Linked DNA regions of Homo sapiens: region 1 is linked to region 2. The links are contacts of gene promoters, found by promoter capture Hi-C in human tissues and cell types (Jung and others, 2019). All regions are on one chromosome and are shown on one strand. The core of a region is centred on a gene start or on the middle of the fragment in contact, and the rest is flanking DNA. Distances in the headings are between cores, read along the strand shown. Region 1 overlaps LOC105371024 (a long non-coding RNA gene). Region 2 holds the start of ALDH1A3 (aldehyde dehydrogenase 1 family member A3).

Region 1 (3,134 bases), core at 524-3,023, 120 kb before region 2:
GAAGCAGAGACTCAGAAAGACAAGTGTATTGCTCAGGGTCTCATGATCCAGGCAGGGAGGCTGGCAAAGCCTCCACAGCGTCTGCTGCCTCTTCCGGGTCACCAGCAGCTGGACATGAATAGAGGTGTTATTTACACGGTCCAAAACGTTGGCCAAATCCACTGGGCAGGGTTGCCTTGGTGACCTGTTGTCCCATAGAGTCTGGCATCATTGCCAGAGCCTGCAAAAACAAAGTTAGACTGAGGTTTAGATGGCTTCGTGTGGAAGCTTCCCTGCTCATCCCTACATGTGGCACAGTATCCTGAAAGAGAAGAGCCATTGGAGTCTGTTTCAATTCTTCTCTGGGTTCATTTGGGACACTTGGGAGCAGGTGGAAGGTGCCTTGTCCCTGGCCAGGTGTAAGTCAGATCTCAGCTGTCACCTGTGAGGGCAGCCAGGACGTGGGACGGGCTTGGAGAGGAAGAGAAAGGAATGTGGGGTGATGAGACAAAGGAAGAAGAGGAGAGAGAGAGAGAGAGTGTGTGTTTCATGTGTGTTTCAGAAACAGATTGACAGTGTCAGGAGCTGAAAGAAGATGAGGACCAGTCAGCGCAGGGAGGCGAATTTTGAGAAATACCCAGCGGAGTGCTCTGAGTTGAGGCTTAGAGAAGAGACAAAAGGTTTGCAAAGCAGAGAAAGTCAGGGATTCGAACTGTGGGTGGGTGGCCCTGGGGTAGAGCCAGGGCGCCTGGGTGCAGAAATGTACTCCATGCAAGAACTTTCTGGCGGGCACAGTCGGAGGAGGGGCTGCCTCAGCAGGATGTGTTCCCCACCCCCGGAGGTGGATAAGTTTGCGCATAGTCACAACTTGGCGTGGATTACATGGACCTGGAGCTCAACGAGGTGTCCTTAGTGGGATGGAGTACTGCCTTCAGCAAGACGGCAAGAACAAAGACAAAGAGGATGCTACAGTGAACCTGGAAAGCTCTAGGTGAATCTTTTTATGAGTTTAAAAAATAAGAGTCTGTGTGATGAAAATTACAAGCCACTGATGAAAGAAATCAAGGAAGACCTAACGCATGGAGACACGTCAGGGTTCATGGATTCGAAGGCTCAGCACGACAGATGTCTCTTCTACCCAAACTGACGGCAGTTTTAACACCATTCCTATCAAAATCTCAGCAAGGTTTTTACAGATACAGACAAGCTTATTCTATAATATATATGAAAAAGGAAAGGCCCGAGATAACAATCTCTGACAGAGGAGAATGAAGTAGGAGAAACCACATACCCGGTACTGAGACTTACTACAGAGCTATAGAAACCAAGCGTGGTGCTGGCAGAGGGCAGACACACACATCAGCAGCACCGAATGGAGGCCCAGCGCTTGACACTTCCTGACCTGTGAGTGTTGACCCATCAGATGAGTTCCGGAGTCTCTTCCCCCCCTCTCCTTGCCCTTTATCCCTGGGGAAGTCCAGTGCTGACAGGGAGCTTCCATGCCACCCTGGCATGGGACAGGGGCCATCTAGGTGGCAGGCCAGCCTTCAAACCTCTGCACATCCTCACTGAATGGGGCCCCCACTCCATGTCCTCTACTGCCAACTCTTAGCCATCTCCACCTCGCTCCTAGGAGCCCCAGAAAGCTGTGAGTGCCCCCCAGGCCATTTCAGCTCTGCAGAGGACAAGTGCCACCCCACCTCTGTCCCAGTCTCCTCCAGACCGTGTCTCTCCAGATGGCCACCAGCCAGGCCACAGAGTCTCAGAGGAAAAAGGGGGTCCAAGTTCCTCTGCCTTGGCATCCCTCAACCTACCATGAGGTATCTCTGACCCCTGGAAAGTGGGGTGAGTCATCCCACAGTGCAGGGCCTGATCCTGGGGCCTCTCAGTCAGCAGGAACCCCCCTGTCATCCTATCCCACACTCTTCCCTCCTCTTCTGCAGGAAGTGCCAGATGCCTTTGTCCTCTCAAAGCTATCATCCTTGTGTGTGCTTCTGAGAGCAGGATTGGACTCCATGGGTCGAGGCTTCCCCTGCAGGCCTCACTGGGCTCTTCCGGGTCTCCCTTCCCTGAGACAGTCAGCCCCAGCCTTGAGTCTGGCTGGAAGGGAGGAAGAGCTACAGGCAAAGAGGAATGACTGACAAGGGAGCCTGTGGGGTGGGGGAACGGCTCCTCCAGCTTTAGTCAGCAGCAGCTCCCTCGTGCCTTCCTCCCAAGGGACCTGAGGAGCAGATGACCATCCCGGCTTCCCCGGCAACGGGACAGATGTGAAAAGGCCACCTCTCATATGCCTTCAAGAGGTTGCATCCAGGCAGGCAGTGGGTGCTAGAGGGGTGAACAGGCCTCCCGGCAGGGGAAGAAGTCTGGCTGAAGTCCCCTGGGCAGGAAGAGGAGCTGACAGTAGGCCAGTGGGGCCCAGGCAGCACAAAGTGTGAGGAGAAGCCAGGGGCAGGCAATAGAGCCTTTGTCTTCATTTTGTGGTGTTTTTCATCTCACTCACTGAACTTGAAGTGAGAAGTGGCCGGTGTGGAGGCCTGGCTCGGGCCTTCCCTTCACCCCCAGTTCCTTACAACTCACACTTGACCCATGGGGCCATGGGGGCTTAGACGTGGAGCCCACCTGGGGAGGTGGGCCTTACGGCCCCTCTTTTCTTGCTGATGAGGAAATGGAGGGATGGGGTGCCGAAGTGACCTGGGCAAGGTGGACCCAGCCCTGTGTTCATTCCTCTTTCCTGGTATCAGCTGCCTCATTTCCTTGGGGTGTCAACCCCATCACGATTGTATTCTATCGCGTGGTTCTGCAGCCTTGCGTGGATGCCTCCACTCAGGAGAAGGATGTGAGTGAGGCTGAAATACTCAGCACAGTCCAGCCCGACTGATGTGATTAGTTTGGAGACAAACACGCGGCCTAGTTCACTCGGTAAGCAGCAGCCTCTGGGCTTGTTTGCAGCCGCTGATGTAGCCCAGGAGCTGGTCAAGGGCTGCTCCTTGGAAGGAGCTGCCTGAGAGTGAAGCCAAAAGCCAAAGAAAGCTGAGCTAGAGGATGACAGACAGCTTCCTGGTGACACTGTTAGAGCATCTGGATCCAGCTATACCTGAAGCTACACCTTAAACATTTTAATTACATTCATCAATGTTTCTTTTTGCTTAAGACGG
Region 2 (2,907 bases), core at 127-2,626:
GTCCATTATCCCCTTTCCCCGGCCTCAGCTGTGCACTCCAGGCCATAACAGCACAAGACCTTTCCACAACCCCAGGGTAAGGGTCAGATGTGGGGTTTCCAAAAGCTTCAAAACTTACCCCTCTATCCAGCTCTATCCAGAAGGACACCAGGGGACAGAGAGATGGACACGGAGGCCTCAAAACAGGAAAATAAGGAGACCCCTCCCCATTGTTGATTACTTGGGGTTACCTACAGAAAGAGATGAACTGAAGGGGCTGAGCCTATCTGAGGATTAAAGCACAGCTTTTGTCAGGAGTCCGTGCCTCCGGTCTTTGTTCCAGCGACCTGAGGAATGGCATGCATCAGAAGCCGCTTCCGTGTCTCAGATGGGGCCTGGGTCAAGTCCTGGGAGTTGATGGAGCGTTTCCCAAATCGCAAAAGGAGAGGAGCTAGACTTACCTCCCCCTCCTGGGAAGTAATGCGCGACAAGAATTTAAACTCTTAAAACGATTAGCAGCAAAGGTCTCATGTGCTTTTTTTTAATTATCATTTTTTAATCGAGGTATAATTTATGCATTTAAAAAATCAGATCAATTGCCCCCCGGGCTCTGGGATGGAAGGCGGTGTGCGCCTGCGAAGGTCAGAGGCCCAGCGGCGCCAGGGCTCCTCGGCGGAGAGCCGCCCGGGTCCGGCGCTTTGCTTTCGCCTTCTGCCCCACCGCGGGCGAAGCCCCAGGGCCCCGGGGAGACTCCAGGCCGGCTGGGCCGGGGTGCGCCCGCCGGCTGTCCGCGCTCGGGCAGGGTGGGGCGCAGCGGGCGTCTGTCCTGCTAGCGGGGATCGGGCGGCTGGACCCAAGAGCAGGGCACGTGCGCAGCGACGCGGGGCGGCCCCGCCAGGAGCCCCGACCCGGGCGCGGCGCAGGGCCCGGCGGAGAGCGCGCATTCCCGAGCGCCGCGAGCCGGCCGAAGTCGGGCGAGCGCGCCGTGCGGCGGCTGGGAGTGGGCTGCATGTGCCGCGCGGGGAGCCCGCCCGACTTCGGGGAGGCAGCGGGGCGCCGTGGCCCCGCGGCTCAGCTCCCTGCCGGGTCGGGTGTCCCAGCCCTGCGACTTCCGGGGCCCGGCGGCTCCTCGGGGAGCTCGTCCACAGGCAGCCTCCGGGGCGAGAGAGCGCGCGGCGCGGGCGCCGGGACGGTCCGCGGCACGCGGGTGGAGCCGCCGGCGCTCGGGCTCCCGCAGGGGCGGCGGGCGGGGCGGGGTGAGGCGGGCCGGCCGCCCTCCCCTCTCCTCCCTCCCGCAGCCCGCCCTCCCTTCCTCCGGTCCCGCAGCCAATTAGGCGGCCCCCTCGGGCGGGAGGCGTGGGGCGCTGCATAAAGCGGCGGGGAGCTGCCACCCCGGGAGCGGGCTGCGCAGTGTCCGGGCCGAGCCGGTGCGCCGCAGACTAGGGCGCCTCGGGCCAGGGAGCGCGGAGGAGCCATGGCCACCGCTAACGGGGCCGTGGAAAACGGGCAGCCGGACAGGAAGCCGCCGGCCCTGCCGCGCCCCATCCGCAACCTGGAGGTCAAGTTCACCAAGGTGAGGCGGGCGCCCCTCCCACCCGACGGCCGCGGGCCCCTGCGCTGGGCAGCCAGACTCGGGGCGGCGGGGGCGAGGGAGCAGCGGGCCGGGGGTCCGCCGGGCGCCGCCGAGACCCGAGCCTCCCTGCCCGGGCGCGGCTCTCCAGAAACCGCACCTTTCGCGGGACGTCTCGGGCGGGATCGCAGGCGGCGGGGCTCGGCGCTGTGAGCCTCGAAGCCGGGAAACCGAGGCCGTCCAGCGCCCGCGCGGGGCCGGGCCGCCCGCATCCCTGCGAGGCCCCGACGTGTCCCTGCGCTGCCCGCTTTGATCGCGAGTGGAGGTGCGCGCCGCGTTGACTCGGAGCGCGCTGGTTTTGGGGAGCTCCCTCCCCAAAAACCCCTGCGATGATTTCCAGGGTGGACGAGTCTGGCTTTGAGAGGGTCGGAGGGTCCGAGAGCGCCAAGAGAGAGTCCGGGAGGCAGATGGCGGAGCTGCAGTTGGAAGACTGGGGAAGCGGGTCCTCCGAGCAAAGCGCAGCGGGCGCCTTCCGTGCTTAGTTTATACCCGGCTCAGCAGCAGAACGAGGAGGAGTAGGAAGGTGCTCGCTTACTGACGAAACCTCCCCGGAGCCCAGAGGTCCCGGTGTTTACACACAAGGCGCGCGCTCCGGAAGGTCGCAGACCTGGGCCTTTGGGAAGCGGTGGGTCGCGAGGCCGCAGAAGCGCACGGTTCTCTGCCTCCTCGCTCTGTGGGCTGGGAGGCTACAGCGTTGGCAGAACGGCGAGATTACCTGCCCGGGGCAGAAAGGAATAAAAGAAGATGGTGAGGCCTCCGAGGCCTCTGAGCTGGGGCTGAGGAGGGCCGAGAGACCCGGGTCCGGGAGCGCGACCCGATGGAGGACACCCCCAGGCTGTCTGGCGTGCGCGTCTGTCGTGGGCCGGTGCTGGGGCACTTTAGAGGCACAGGCCAGGCCGAGAGCCATTGCCTTAACTTTCCCCACCTTTGGCTTCTCTTGATTTTTGCTTTTACCCATAGCCCCCAACTCCAGCTGACACCGCACTTAGAGAATTTCCTCATCCGTTTTACTTTAAGAAGTAGCAATTATCTTTCTCAAAGAATTTTAATCAAGCGGAGAAAGTTGCAGGGCACTATGTGTGGCCTTCAGATTTGGGTCTCTTGGCACTTAATTCCCAATGTCGGCTGAGCCTCTGATCACAAGACATTTAAATTAACTGTTTTCAGAAGGCTCTGTAATCAACAAAGACACGTCGCTGTAAACTAAACGCTGGAAATTATTCTTAATGTAGTTTTATTTGTAATATCAGCTTCAGAGTGAAAATTCCAACACGAATTCTGGGAAGAGTGAAAATGGT

What was found. The method cuts DNA at HindIII sites, captures the fragments that hold promoters and counts their contacts. A contact is called where the count stands out against the background at its distance.
Region 1: a contact is called between a fragment that was not itself captured here and the fragment with the promoter of ALDH1A3 in region 2, in 4 of the 25 tissues and cell types used here (IMR-90 fibroblasts, bladder, lymphoblastoid cells and 1 more).

What each region holds. Positions count from the first base shown.
Region 1 is chr15:100,761,725-100,764,858 of GRCh38, forward strand. The region is part of intron 2 of LOC105371024 (a long non-coding RNA gene); the gene reads left to right. Among named protein-coding and RNA genes, the nearest start is that of GCAWKR, 86 kb to the right of the region's middle. RefSeq lists an enhancer at 3,098-3,134. The HindIII fragment of the contact is 4,110 bases long and covers 1-3,134 here.
Region 2 is chr15:100,878,455-100,881,361 of GRCh38, forward strand. ALDH1A3 (aldehyde dehydrogenase 1 family member A3) reads left to right here and starts at 1,377. Exons shown (of 13, transcript NM_000693.4): 1 at 1,377-1,552. The coding sequence starts at 1,454. It overlaps LOC124903575 (collagen alpha-1(I) chain-like), which reads right to left and starts at 1,349. Exons shown (of 1, transcript XM_047433433.1): 1 at 492-1,349. The coding sequence starts at 1,349. The coding sequence ends at 567. RefSeq lists a silencer at 1,298-1,417 and an enhancer at 1,909-2,423. The HindIII fragment of the contact is 10,500 bases long and covers 1-2,561 here.